4 separate regions of the Homo sapiens genome follow, and regions 2, 3 and 4 are each linked to region 1. Evidence: promoter capture Hi-C in 16 types of primary human blood cells and fetal thymus (Javierre and others, 2016). All regions are on one chromosome and are shown on one strand. The core of a region is centred on a gene start or on the middle of the fragment in contact, and the rest is flanking DNA. Distances in the headings are between cores, read along the strand shown. Region 1 holds the start of MYO3B-AS1 (MYO3B antisense RNA 1). Region 2 has its middle 37 kb from the start of BBS5. Region 3 has its middle 48 kb from the start of GORASP2. Region 4 has its middle 45 kb from the start of GAD1-AS1.

Region 1 (3,478 bases), core at 683-3,182:
AATAGGTATGTAGTGGTATCTCATTGTTGAATCTTTTTATTTTATTGTCAAAAGTTATATGCAGTAGGAAGACTATGAGGAAATCCTGTCTATCCCAAACGAGTAAACAATAGTATCCTAGAACCAGCATGCATAAGCTTACTAGACATTACTGTTAACATTTTCAGGAATTCTGTGAGCTGGTTGATATCAGATTGATAGCTTGAAATTGGCTATGGTGGGAATATTTACACCATGAAAACGAGTAAACACTGAAAATCAGCCCCACTCCCACCCCTATCCGCAACCAGCCAGTTTAAACATTTACCAGTACACCACTGCTTATGTACTGGAAATCTTGGGAAAAACTGACTGCCTGATAATTCAAAAGCATGGTCATATAGATAGAAATCTCTTTTTACCAACCTTTTCCTCCAATGCTTTTTTTCCTCATTTCCTGTCTTCTGTTAGATTGATTAAATTTTCTGTAGACCCTTTCTTCTTTTGGTTTAGAAACTAGACATTGTTTTTCTATAGTTTTAACATATTTGCTTAACTACAAATTAGTTTAACATGTTTGCTTAACTGTCAATTTTCCTGTAGTTCTATCCCCTTTCTGAGTACAAAAACCTATGCGTGCCTAGGCCGGGCACGGTGGCTCACACCTGTAATCTCAGCATTTTGGGAGACCAAGGAGGGCGGGTCACCTGAGGTCAGGAGTTCGAGACCAGTCTGGCCAACACGGTGAAACCCCGTCTCTACTAAAAATACAAAAATCAGCCAGGTGTTGTGGCATGCACCTGCAACCCCAGCTACTCAGGAGGCTGAGGCAAGAGGATCGCTTGAACCTGGGAGGCGGAGGTTGCAGTGAGCCGAGATCATGCCACTGCACTCTAGCCTGGGCGACGGAGCGAGACTCCATCTCAAAAACAACAACAAAAAACCAAACAAAGAAAAACAACTTGTGCATGCCTAAATCACACACTGGATGCTGTCCCTGCCCCAACTGTATGATTAGAGTTAGTTTTTACGTATTTTATCCCAAATTGTTTTCCTTCTTACAGTTAGTAGTTATCTACATTAATCCTTCAGACTATTCCATGAATTTAGTTTCATTTCAAACGAATTTATGCTTCATTTGTTGTTTTGGTGGGTTGTCTTCCTCAGCTTTAGGTTTATTCAGGTGTTCTGAAATTTCAGTTGGCAGGCTCACTGAAAGGGTGAGGAGGAAGAGGATTTTGTTTTCTCTCTCCCTCTCACTTCCCCTTTGCCCACCCTCCTATTCTAGTAATGTTATGGTTATGTCTGCTTGGCTCTCTGGGTCTCTAGCCCAGAGCCAGGTTGTAGAATGGCATTTTGTGCTGCTGTCCCATGGTCTTATTGGGCATATGGAAGAGCCTATGACTGTGGCAGCCACAGGCCTGGCTGCTTATATATCCTTCTACCATCCTCAGCCAGAAGGTGGCTAAAAGTCATAGTCCTGGGTGATGGTCAGCATCACCCCAGACGATGGAGAATATGTGGAAGAAATTGCTACAGTTAGAGCACAGGATCACATAACCTCTCCCCTACCCCATTCTTTTTCCCAGACGCTTTTTATCAGCCTAAATGAACCACCTCATTTACTGGCTTCAAGTAGGAGTCTCAACTCTGAATCCTATCTTGTTTGGAGCCCTGTTAGTCTTTTTACTCACAGGAGTCACCACTGCTCTTGATACCTGCGGACCTGTGACTTCAGCCCAGCTGAGCACTTCATGAGCATTCCATTCTCATCCATCACAATGAACATTCTGAATATAACTAACTTCCTTCCTTCCTGCCTTCCTCCCTCCCTGCCTTCCCTTCCTTCCTGCCTTCCTTCTTCCTTCCTCCCTTTTTTCTTTTCTCCCTTCCTTCCTTCTTAATATGTTTTTGGCCTTTTCTTTATATATGTGGCCTAGCAATATCCTGTGTTTGGAAAAGTATAAACCTAAGGCATCACCTTTACAGAAAATATCTTCCACGGAAACATCTAAAGGCAAAAATCCTTCAAATTCAAATTTATCCAATCATTTCTTCTGCTTACTACCATCCTAAATCATTTTTCTTTAGTAAGATCTATTAGTGTGAAGCTATTAAGCTATTAATGTATGTATCATATTAATGTATTAAGACATTAAGGTACGTGGCCAAAATTAACATCTGTGAGACGTGCCCCTAATCTTTTTTCCCCCTGCCAACACCTTGATTTTAACCTAATTTTATTTTACAGTGAGGAAGTAAAGTTGCATTCACAGGCCTTGAACTTTTCCACATCTCGATTTTTACCCATCATCTCTGCATAGTTCCCTAAGGCAGCCTTCAAATGGTGATGTTTCTTATAATCCAGAGTTCAGAAGTGGCTTCTCTTCAATCTTTCTGTGGAATTCTAAACCACGTGATAAAGGAGCTGGTGGTGAGAAATAAGGGAAGGCAGAGATGAAAAGGAATGGGCAGAAGCTTTTGGAGAGGAATAACCACTGAGATTGCCATGAAGGATTCATTCTGACATTCTTTTCATGTATTTAAGGCAATCAAAAAAGAATCCACAGCTAACCACGTAGCTATCAATTTAACAATCCTATCATGTTTCTTCTTACAGTTAAAATTTCGGTTTTTGGGAGGTCGAGGCGGGCAGATCACTTGAGCCCACAAGTTGGAGATCAGCCTGGGCAACATGGCAAAACCCAGTCTCTACTAAACATACAGAAAATTAGCTGGGTGTGCACGTGCCTGTAATCCCAGCTACTTGGGAGGCTGAGGGAAGAGGATTGCTTCACCCTGGGAGGTTGAGATTGCAATGAGCCGAGATCGCGCCACTGCAATCCAGCCTGGGCAACAGAGCAAGACACTATCTCAAAGGAAAAAAAAATGTTCAGTTGTGTTCTGGGATACTGTGTGTATATTGAGAGAGGAAGGTGTATCTGACCACTTTTGCCACCCCTTATTCTCTTCCTTATCATTATGTTTGTCGTTTGGAGAGACTGTCCAAAGATCATGAGTTCTAACATCCAACTTCTATCTAGGTCCATTATATGAGGTGCATAATTTTTTTCTTTCTTTCTTTTTTTTTTTTTTTTGAGACAGGGTCTCATTCCATCGCTCAGGCTGGAGTGCAGTGGTGCAATCTCAGCTCACTGCAACATCCACCTCCCAGATTCCAGTGATCTCCTGCCTCAGCCTCCCAAGTAGCTGGGATTACAGGTGCCCACTACCATGCCCGGCTAATTTTTGCATTTTTAGTAAAGACAGGGTTTCACCATGTTGGCCAGGCTGGTCTCAAACTCCTGACCTCAAGTGATCCACCCACCTCGGCCTCCCAAAGTGCTGAGATTATAGGCATGAGCCACCACACCCGGCCATGAGGTGCATAATTTTAAGAGTATCACTTCCTCTAAAGAATTCGTGGTTCTTCAAAAGGAATGGATATTTACTGAGTTCCTGCCATGTTCTAGGAACTGTGCTAGGTATTGGGGATATG
Region 2 (3,478 bases), core at 282-2,781, 910 kb after region 1:
CAGTGAAACCATCTGAGTCTAGAAATTTCTTTCTTTCTCTTTTTTCTTTTTTTGAGACGGAGTCTCGCTCTGTCACCCAGGCTGGAGTGCAATGGCCCGATCTTGGCTCACTGCAGGCTCCGCCTCCCGGGTTCACGCCATTCTCCTGCCTCAGCCTCCTGAGTAGCTAGGACTACAGGCACTCACCACCATGCCCGGCTAATTTTTTGTATTTTTAATAGAGACGGGGTTTCACCGTGTTAGCCAGGATGGTCTTGATCTCCTGACCTCGTGATCTGCCCACCTTGGCCTCCCAAAGTGCTGGGATTACAGGCGTGAGCTAGAAGTTTCTTTTTAGAAGGTTTTCAACGACATGTTCCATTTCTTTAATAGTTACAGAAAAATTCAGATTGTCTATTTCATCTTGGTTGCATTTTGGTATTTTGAGGTTTTAAGGAACTGGTTCATTTCATCTTTGTTGTTCCATTTATGTGCTTAGAATGGTAGCATTCCCTTATACCTTAAACATCTGTGGGGTCTATAGTGATCCCATCTTTCTTTCCTGATATTGATAATGTGTGTCTTTTCTCCTTTTTTCTTTGTTGATCTTGATAGAGAATTTTAAATTTTATTGATCTTTTCAAAGTACTAGCTTTTGGTTTTATTTTGTCTAGTCTTCTTTCTTCCAGTTGCCCTTTTTTGGTTTGGTTAGTTTTAATTTCATTGATTTCTGCTTTTACCTTTATTATTTTCTTCCTTTTGCATGCTTTGAACATATGTTGCTCTTCTTTTTCTAGTTTTTAAAAATAGAATCTTAGCTAGTGGATCTGAGATCATTCTTCTTCTTAATATGAGCACATAATGGGTATAATTTCACCTTTAAACACTGCTTTACCTGTACACCACAAATTTTTACATTTTATTTTATGTTTCATTTAATTCAAAGTATTTTCTAATTTCTCCTGAGGCTTCCTCTTTGATCTGTGGGTTGTTTAAAGATCTACTGTTTAATTTAAAAGTGTTTAAAACTTTTTTTGGTATTATTGATTTTTAGTTTAATTTTCTTATGGCCAAAGAACTTTGTGTGATTTCAACTCTTTTACTTTTGATAAGGTTTATTTTATGACCTAGTATATGCTCTATCTTGATGAATATTCTGTGTGCCTATATAAAGACTATCATGTTGTTATGGGGTAAAATATTCTATTAATGTTGATTAGATACAGTTCTTTAATAGCATTGTTCAGTTCTGTGTCCTTGCTGATTTTCTGTCTACTTGTTCTAACGATTACTGAAAGAGGAGAGTTGAAATTTTCAACTATAATTGTGGGTTTGTCCATTTTTCCTTCCAGTTTTGTTAGTTTTTGCTTCATGTATTTTAAAGCTTTGTTGCTAGGTATATTATCACTTAGGATGGTTATATATTCTTGGTTAATGGACAATGTCCCTTTTTATCCCTGGTAATTGTCTTTGCTCTGAATTCTTCTCTGCTATTAAATAGTCACTCTAGCTTTAAAGTTTTTTTTTTTTAATTAAGGCTATCATTTTTTCCACCCATGTATTTTTTAAAAATTTATTTATTGATTAAGAGAGAAGGTCTCACTATGTTGCCCTACATGCATTCTGACAGAGAGGGAGGGCATTACATAAAGAAAAAGGGGTCCATTCACCAAGAACACATAACAATTCTGAATGTGTACACACCTAACAACAAAGCTTGAAAATACATAAAGCAAAAACTTACGAAACCTGAAAAAGCAATAGACAAATTTACAGTTAAAACTGGGAGCTTCAATCTTCATCCCCCAAGAATCAATAGAATCAACAGCATACCATAACCTTTTTTTTTTTTTTTTTTTTGAGATGGAGTCTTGCTCTGTCGCCAGACTAGAGTGCAGTGGCGTGATCTCAGCTCACTGCAACCTCTGCCTCCTGGGGTCAAGCGATTCTCCTGCCTCAGCCACCCGAGTAGCTGAGATTATAGGCATGCACCACCATGCCCAGCTAATTTTTGTATTTTTAATAGAGACGGGGTTTCACCTTGTTGGCCAGGATGGTCTCGATCTCTTGACCTCATGATTCGCCGGCCTCGGCCTCCCAAAGTGCTGGGATTACAGGCATGAGCCACAGAGCCTGGCCCCATAACCTTTGAGAACATAAACAGTTACGTACAGGCTGTGATTTCTGATCAATCCGCTCTGGGTGTGGTTCCAACGTTAGTTCAGTTTTTAAAGCCTATGCAATGCTCCTTGTTTCTGTCCCTTGTATGTGCCACCCAATGTACAGTCTGGGAGCTGGGCTGCAGTCTGTCCCACCTTTCAGTTCTCAAAGTCTATGATATGCTGTTAAGGGTCAGATTCATGCACACACCACTCAGGAATAAGCTCCAGAGCCTAGAAACGACTTTATTGGGTCACACTTCCTAGCTCCTCCCTCTCTACGTTCTCCTCAGAATTTTCAGTTTCCTTCATCTTTTTAGTTCTCCAGCCCAAAAAACTGAGTTTTAAGTTAGCCCAGTCTGTGTGTATTCAGAGTCAAATAGTAGGAGGCTAGAGAGAGAAAAAACCAACAGGGATTTGCCCCACTTTGGGGGACCACAGCTCCTCTGATCAGAGAGGAACATTCTGTACTTCAGAGTTTTAGGGACCTGCAGCCTCTGCTGCCACCACTGTCTTTGCTGCAACTGTTGTCATGGGATCGTCTGGCTTCTGGGGCATGACAGAAAAATGAACAAAGGAAAATGATGAATTGCCCCCATCTCGATGAGTGTTAGAATTCTCCTTTCCCACTCCTGGACCCAAAACTAGAGGGCTTTTCTTGAAGCACTCTCTGTCTACATCTGGGTGCCCACTTCAGAGTTTCAGACTTCCCTGAGTCCTGGCCAGGAGGGAAAAAAAGGGAAAACTCAGTACTGGCTTGGTGGTGCTTTGAATTCTGGTGTCCTTTCCAAATCTTCTTGCTATCATTTATTTTGCAGTGTTCCTAAATAGATGCTCCATGCACTGTATCTAGGTTTTATAGCTGGATGGCTCAGGGGGCTGATGGTATTGGTGACTGTCATAGCTTTTAAAAAGTAAGCTATTTCAAGCTGGGAGCCCTCCTATTCTTTGTGCATTTTTGAATATACATTTAGTGATATTAAATTTTGTTTTATTGGTATTGACCTATGTCCCTTTTATTCATTGTATTTTTATCTATCCATAAGCACATTGTCTCAGTATGTGTGCAATTGCAATAACTGGCAATCTCGTTTTTTAAAAATATAGCTTCAATCAAGTCATCAATTAAAATGTTAAGACTAAGAAAATCTTATACGAATGTTGTAAAAGATCTATAGGTCTATTCATTTATTCATCACATTTAAAATTGATTAATTAATTAATTAATTTTGAGACAGAGTCTCACTCACTTTGTTGCCCTGGCTGGAGTACAGTGGTGTGATCTTGGCTTAATGCAACCTCTGCCTCCTGGGTTCAAGTGATTCTCATGCCTCAGCCTC
Region 3 (3,478 bases), core at 386-2,885, 530 kb before region 1:
GCCTTCATTCTCCTTTCTCTTCAGATTGGCTTTCTTGCTTCTCCTGCCCACCTGGCAGCATGTGACATCCAGCCCTCACCCCCATCCCTTGCTCCTAAGCTTGCAAAACATATACAGGCCAACTGAGTTCTCAGTCCCAATTCCAAATTCCTGGGACAAAGAATTGGATTGGCCCAACTTTGATTAGATGGTCCCCTCAGGTCCAGTTGGCTGTGGCCAGGGCAGTGGAGATGTGTAGTATAAACATAGCTGCCGATGGCCCTCCTCTGTGGAACTGGGTAAGGAGGGAAGTTTCCTGAGGAGGGAGAACTGAGCAGCACCCAAATGTGTCTACTTCAGCCTTTCTGTCAGTCTTGTCACTTTGTCATTTCATCCCACATAGGCAACAGATTTTCTTTCTTTCCTTTTCTCTTTCTCTTCTTCCTTCCTTCCTTCCTTCCTTGCTCCCTTTCTCCCTTCCTCCTTCCCCTCCCCTCCCTTCACCTCCCTTCCCCTTCCCTTCCCTTCCCCTTCCCTTCCCTTCCCTTCCCCTTCCCTTCCCTTTCCCTTCCCTTTCCTTCCCCTTCCCCTTCCCTTCCCTTTCCTTCCCCTTCCCTTCCCTTTCCTTCCTTCCTTCTTTCCTTCCTTCCTCCGTTCCTTCTTTCTTTCCTTTCTTCTCTTTCTTTTCTTTTCTTTCTTCCTTTCTTTGACAGGGTCTTGCTCTGTCATCTGGAGTGCAGTGGAACAATCATGGTCCACTGTAGCCTCAACCTCCTGGGCTCAAGCAATCTTCCTGCCTCAGCTTCTCAAGTAGCTGGGACTCAGCTACTCGGCGCATACCACCACACCCAGCTAATTTCTTTTTTGTAGAAATGGGGTCTCACTGTGTTGCCCAGGCTGATCTTGAACTCTTGGCTTCAAGCAATCCTCCCACTTTGAGCCCCCAAAGTGCTGAGATTACAGGTGTGAGCCACCATACCCGGCTGGTGATAGATTTTCTGTAGGTTGTATTGCCATCAGTTGGAGTTTTCTAGAAGTAAAAGAGATTCTGAGTATGGGAATTTCCAAAATGTAGTAGGTCTTGCTCATTAAAATGGGCCCAAGAAAGCACTCATGAAGCATTTTATGGGGTGCTTTTGGAGACTACTAAATAAAATGGTTTAGTTATAAAACAGCTGGAGTTGATCCATTGAACAAAAATATAAGAGGGCTATTTCGCTGAGCTGGCTAGTGTAAATCTTACTAAAATTAGAAACTGGAGCCCAATACTAGTAGTGAGACAGAGCTTACACAAAGATCTTAATAAACATATTACAGTGGTTTCTAGGGGAACTTACCAGTGAAAGGCAGGAGCTTTTATTTTGGAGTCACTGCTGCAGAAAATGAGGGCATCAAAGACTAAGTCCCATTGCTGTCATTGTGGTTGTTTTCAGACAGGGACGTCCGTTTTTCTAGCAGGGAAATCTAGATGATGGGCAGTTTCACCAGCCATACCCATAGTTAAGGAAGATAACTTGACAAGGTACAGCCTGGGACACAGATTTCAGAAGCTACTTGGCCCTCCCCAAATGCCTTCCCCCACCCACTGGCTGAGGTGCTTTAAGATGGGATGAAAATCTTATTCACTGCCTAGTGGTAATTTTACAGAGCAGGGATCACTGGGAAAGGTAACACATGGGCGGGCATGAGGCACTGTCATAAAAGCAGGCTTTGCTCAGACATGGACTGCACATCTAAAGGTGACTGTAGGAAGAGGGACGTGGGGAAAAAGAAAGGAGGTTACTGGGATGGAAAGCAAATGGCGAATGCCTAACACTTCAGCTTGGGGTCTGTTCTGGAGGAAAAAAATATTTTTGTGCACCAAAAAATGTCTGAAGACAGTTTACTATGGCTTAGCTTAAAAGGGAAAAATAAAGAGGGGAAATATTGCTTTCAAGTACTTAAATGTAAGAAAGATTTTAATGGGCTCTATCTATAGAAAATAAAGATTTTCTGAGAAGCGAGCTGTAGTAATAAATTCTAGTTCAGGGTCAGGTTACTGAAGGGAAGTGGAAGTGGGTTTGGGCACTATATTCAAGAAGTCTGGAAGAGAGGATAGAGTTAGATTTGTTTTGAATAAGGTGAGCCTGACTTAGTTTGAGTCGTGTTTGCAGCCTATTGCACTTTTATATACTAAACAAAATCTCAGAAATCTTCCCTTTATTTTCACCTGTTCTAATACCATTCACGGGCCAAGGCAATCCATCTAATTAAGTATGCTTGCATAGGCAGGTGTTCCCACTAGAGAAATAAAAATCAATGGAAGATTGTGGTAATTTTCACAGCCAACAGTGTTGGCCCACATTATTGGACCATTATATACTTGGTTTGCTGTCTGTTTATCTGTTGGTTACTTTTTTTTAAAAAAAATGATATCATCAAGTAATCTTCAGGGCATAAAAAGGAGCTTCATTCAACTCCTCAGTAATAACAGTCATTACTGTACTCTCTAAAAACAATTGGCTAGTTACGTGCAGCTTCTAAAGAGTTCCCTAATCCAGAAAACTGCAAATTACATAGTAATGATTATTGAGGTACTGTGGTAACTCCAGTCATCATTTCAATGTAATTGATAGAGCATGAATAACTATAAATTATGTCATATATACAACCTCTTTACAGGGAACTCACACAGTTATTTGTGGTATGCATAATAAAGCAAAATCTAAATTGAATGTTAATTTTAATAAAAATCACTTTTATACCTCATTTCCATCTGAATGGATACCATCTGTTTTAAGGTGCTAGCAGGGAGCAAAGTAAAATTGAACTCCAAAAATACAAACATTTGTTGTTTTCCAGCTTTTCCAATTTAATGATGAAAGCCATGAAAGAAACAAGAGACTTTGATATAGTATTGTTTTCCAGGGCAAGGGGTTATCAAAGACATTAACAAACGTTAATTAAGAATATTAGGATTTTTTTCCATGCTGAGCTAAGAAAACTCTCGGATCCCAGTTTTAGTTTGCAGATTTTTTGTTATTGTCCAACTTTAGGATCATCCAGTATCAAACCCACAGACTACAGTTTGATCAAAAGTAGCTCATGTAGGAGCTGAGCCCAGGAAGCACTAATGGGGCAGAGGGAAAGTGAGACCAGGAGGGGAAGGAAGTGAATGAAGTGTGTATTTCCACCATGGGCAACAGAAGCTTGATGCCGCTGGGGAATCTGGAGAGCATGAGAAACACCTCAGAGTAATCTTCACCTCATCCACCCATGGCTGGGATGTTTTGGGGCTCTAACTTGCTTTCTTTTTCTTTTCTTTTTCTTTCTTTCTTTCTTTCTTTCTTTCTTTTTTTTTTTTTTTTTTTGAGACAGGGTCTCGCTCTGTTACCCAAGCTGGAGTGCAGTGGCGCAATCTCGGCTCACTGGAACCTCCACTTCCTGGGTTCAAGTGATTCTCCTACCTCAGCCTCTCCAGTAGCTGGGACAGGTGCCCGCCACCATGCCCTGCTAATTT
Region 4 (3,478 bases), core at 731-3,230, 510 kb before region 1:
GACCGCTCTACTCAGTAAAGTTCCATAAATACATTGTGACCCAGCAATTTCACTTCCAGGTATAAACCTTAGAAAAACTTTTGTACATGTACCCCAGAAAACAGGTACTAGAATGCTCATAGCAATGTTATCTCTAAAGGCAAAACTGGAAAAACTCATATATTCACCCCCAATAGAATGGATAAACCTTCTGAAGTATATTCATACACTGTAATAGCATTGCAGCCATAAAAATGAATGAATTACAGCTGCAGCCATTGTCAAAGGTGACTCTCAAAACCATGAGGCTTCTACATGAGACCGTGTTTGCAGGGTGTGCCAATAGGTTGAGTAGGCGCTGAAGTCTATTCCAGCTCCACTGGCACAGGGATGCTTAGCTATCAAGACAGGGGTACCTTTTTTATTTTAAACTGCACGAAGTCTCCCTAGAGGTTAGCTCTGGACAAACAAAATCATAATGTTGACTAGAAAAGTCACAGAAGTATAAAAATTCTGTATTATTCTGTTTACATAAAGTACAAAATCAGGTAAGACTAAACAATAAGGATGCATGAGTATGTGGTAAAACTATATAGAAAAATAAGAGAGTGAGTAACACAAAATTCAGAATAGTGATCACTTCTTAGAGAGTGGGGAGCATCCAATCAGGGAAGGTTCGTGACGGGGTTGGAGAGTGCTAAGGTCATGATAATAATAATGTTCTATATCTTAGGCTAAGTAATGGGTACTCAAGTATAATGTCATCACCCTTTGTCCTATACATGTATGTCTAATAAAGCCCTTCTTGGTCAGGCACAGTGGCTTATGCCTGTAATTCTAGCAGTTTGGGAGGCCGAGGTGAAAGGATCAGTTGAGTTCAGGAGTTTGAGACTAGTCTGGGCAACAGAATGAGACTCCATCTCTACAAAAAAATAAAAAATTAGCTGGGCATGATGGCATGCACCTGCAGTCCCAGTTACTTGGGAGGCTGAGGTGGGAGGATTGCTTAAGCCCAGGAGTTCGAGGTTGCAGTGAGCTGTGATCATGCCACAATACTCTAGCCTGGGTGACAAAGCGGGATCCTGTCTCAAAAAAAAAAAAAAAAAAAAAATCAGTTATTGTAGATTATCTAAGGAGGGTTTTGTTTTTGTTTCTGTTTTTTTTTTTTTGAGATGGTGTCTCACTCTGTTGCTCAGGCTGGAATGCAGTGGCATGATCATGGCTCACTGCAGCCTTGACCTCTTGGGCTCCAGTGATCTTCCCACCTCAGCCTTCTGAGTAGCTGGCATCACAGGGGCTCACCACCACACTCCCAGCTATTTTTTTATTTTTTGTAGAGATGGGATCTCCCAATGTACCCAGGCTGGCCTTGAACTCCTGGGCTCAAGGCAGTCCTTCCAGTTTGGCCTTCCAAAGTGCTGGGATCACAGACGTGAGCCACTGCACCTGGCCAGTAACTGATGTTAAATAAAAGGCATCCTGGCCAAATGTACTACTTGGAGAAGAAAGGATCCCAACTACAAGGTCTGGACAGTGTAGACTGCCAGGGGCCCAGGCCTGAGGGTCTGAGTCCTAAGTGGTTGCAGGAGGATAAACCTTTACTGCCTCCTGTGCAATGAGCTGGGAGGACCCCAGAGGGATCCTTCAAAAGTGCTTCACGAAAAAGCAAATTAGAACCACAAGATAACACTTTTAGAATGGCCAGCATGGGGGGAAAATGACAGTACCAAGTGTCAGCAAGAATATGGAGCAACTGGAATATTTGTGCATTGCTGGTGAGAATGCAAAATGGTACAGCCACTTTGGAAAATAGTTTAGCAGTTTCTGATAAAATTAAACATATTATTAATGTTATCTTGCAATCCTACACGTAGGTATTTACCCAAGTTAAATGAAATCTATGTTCACAGAAAAATCTGCACACTATTGTTTCCAGTAGCTTTATTCTAATCGCCAAAAAAACTGGAAACAACAGAAATTCCCCTCTACTAAGGGATGGATAAGCAGAGTATGGTACATTTATGCAAATGGAATACTATGCGGTAGTGAAAAGGAATGAACACTGATATAGAGATAACATGGATGGATTTCAAGTGCACTACGTTAAGCAAAAGAAACCAGACTAAAAAAAGACTAAATCTTATATGATTCCATTTACATGGTGGGAAAGGCAAAAGTCTAGGGACAGAAAACAAAGCAGAGGTTGCCAAGAGCTGAGTAGGAGAGGTGTTCAGTACAAAGGGGGATGGGAAATTCGTTGGGGTGACAGACCTGTTGTAGACCTTGATCATGATGATAGTTATTAATACATGACTGAATGGGTTTGTCAAAATCCACAGAAAACTATACACAGTACACTACAAAAAGTTTCATTGTATCTAAATTTTACCTTAATTCCAAAAATCCTCATTCACTCCAGAAAATTTCTCAAAAAAAAAAACAAAAAACCCCCCCAAAAAACAAAAACTCATGTTCCAGGGAACTTGATGCCCAATGACAATTTAATAGCCATGTAAAATTTTACCTTTGTCACGTTATCCCTTCCTCCCGCTAGGCCTGACCCTGAATGAGGAAGCACAGGAGCTAGGGAGATGAGCTGAAAGATGAAGAAAAAAGGTGACCTCACCCACCGTCAGCCTTGCTCTCCCTGCCACTGTAGGCTTGCAGCTGAAGCAGTGCCAGATCGGGGGGAGGGGGGAGAAACTCTATATCATATAAAAATTGAAACTTTGCTTATTACATCAACCTGGACCCTCAGTTGCAAAAATGAGACTGTTCATGCACCCGAGAGGACAGAAAAGCTATGGGATTGGCCTAAATTCAAATGGGGGCATGGAAAAAATCAGCCCCCAGGGGCGTTTTATAGAAACAGTGAGAGAAAGAATAAGTGGCTTTATGATCACTCCCTATAGAGTCGTTTAATACAATGGTTACATGCAATCAGTGTGCTAATTACAAAGGACTCTTCTGTATTCCCTACCTGTGCTAAATAGGGAGCTTCTTGTATTCCAAATGAGTGAGATTGTATTAATATAGCTGAATAAAATATTGTAGAAAATGGGCTGGGCGCAGTGGCTCACGCCTGTAATCCCAGCACTTTGGGAGGCCGAGGTGGGCAGATCTCGAGGTCAAGAGATTGAGACCATCCTGGCCAACATGGGGAAACCGTGGCTCTACTAAAATACAAAAACTAGCTGGGTGTGGTGGTGCACGCCTGTAATCCCAGCTACTCAGAAGACTGAGGCAGGAGAATCGCTTGAACCGGGGAGACAGAGGTTGCAGTGAGCTGAGATGGCGCCACTGCACTCCAGCCTGGTGACAGAGTTGAGACTCTTTCTCTCTCTCTCTCTCTCTCTCACACACACACACACACATACACACACACACACACACACACAAAGAATATTGTAGAAAATCAGTCCCATATCCTAATGATCCAGCACCAACATATATTTCCCTAGGAAGTGAATGGGGACCACTCTACAAGCATAAAGCAGCA

The links. Contacts are between HindIII fragments. The CHiCAGO score rates a contact against its expected background, and 5 or more counts as called.
Region 2: a fragment that was not itself captured here is called in contact with the fragment with the promoter of MYO3B-AS1 in region 1 in 1 of 17 cell types (endothelial precursors); the score reaches 7.2 in endothelial precursors.
Region 3: a contact is called between a fragment that was not itself captured here and the fragment with the promoter of MYO3B-AS1 in region 1, in 5 of 17 cell types (M2 macrophages, naive CD4 T cells, M0 macrophages and 2 more). The highest score is 8.8, in M2 macrophages.
Region 4: a contact is called between a fragment that was not itself captured here and the fragment with the promoter of MYO3B-AS1 in region 1, in 14 of 17 cell types (M1 macrophages, M2 macrophages, fetal thymus and 11 more). The highest score is 13.2, in M1 macrophages.

Annotation. Positions count from the first base shown.
Region 1 is chr2:170,349,397-170,352,874 of GRCh38, reverse strand. MYO3B-AS1 (MYO3B antisense RNA 1) reads left to right here and starts at 1,932. Exons shown (of 4, transcript NR_110576.1): 1 at 1,932-1,996. All of the region lies in intron 8 of MYO3B (myosin IIIB), which reads right to left. The HindIII fragment of the contact is 2,320 bases long and covers 140-2,459 here.
Region 2 is chr2:169,440,579-169,444,056 of GRCh38, reverse strand. No RefSeq gene overlaps it. Among named protein-coding and RNA genes, the nearest start is that of BBS5, 37 kb to the left of the region's middle. The HindIII fragment of the contact is 332 bases long and covers 1,366-1,697 here.
Region 3 is chr2:170,879,917-170,883,394 of GRCh38, reverse strand. No RefSeq gene overlaps it. Among named protein-coding and RNA genes, the nearest start is that of GORASP2, 48 kb to the left of the region's middle. The HindIII fragment of the contact is 3,068 bases long and covers 102-3,169 here.
Region 4 is chr2:170,861,831-170,865,308 of GRCh38, reverse strand. No RefSeq gene overlaps it. Among named protein-coding and RNA genes, the nearest start is that of GAD1-AS1, 45 kb to the right of the region's middle. The HindIII fragment of the contact is 6,602 bases long and covers 1-3,478 here.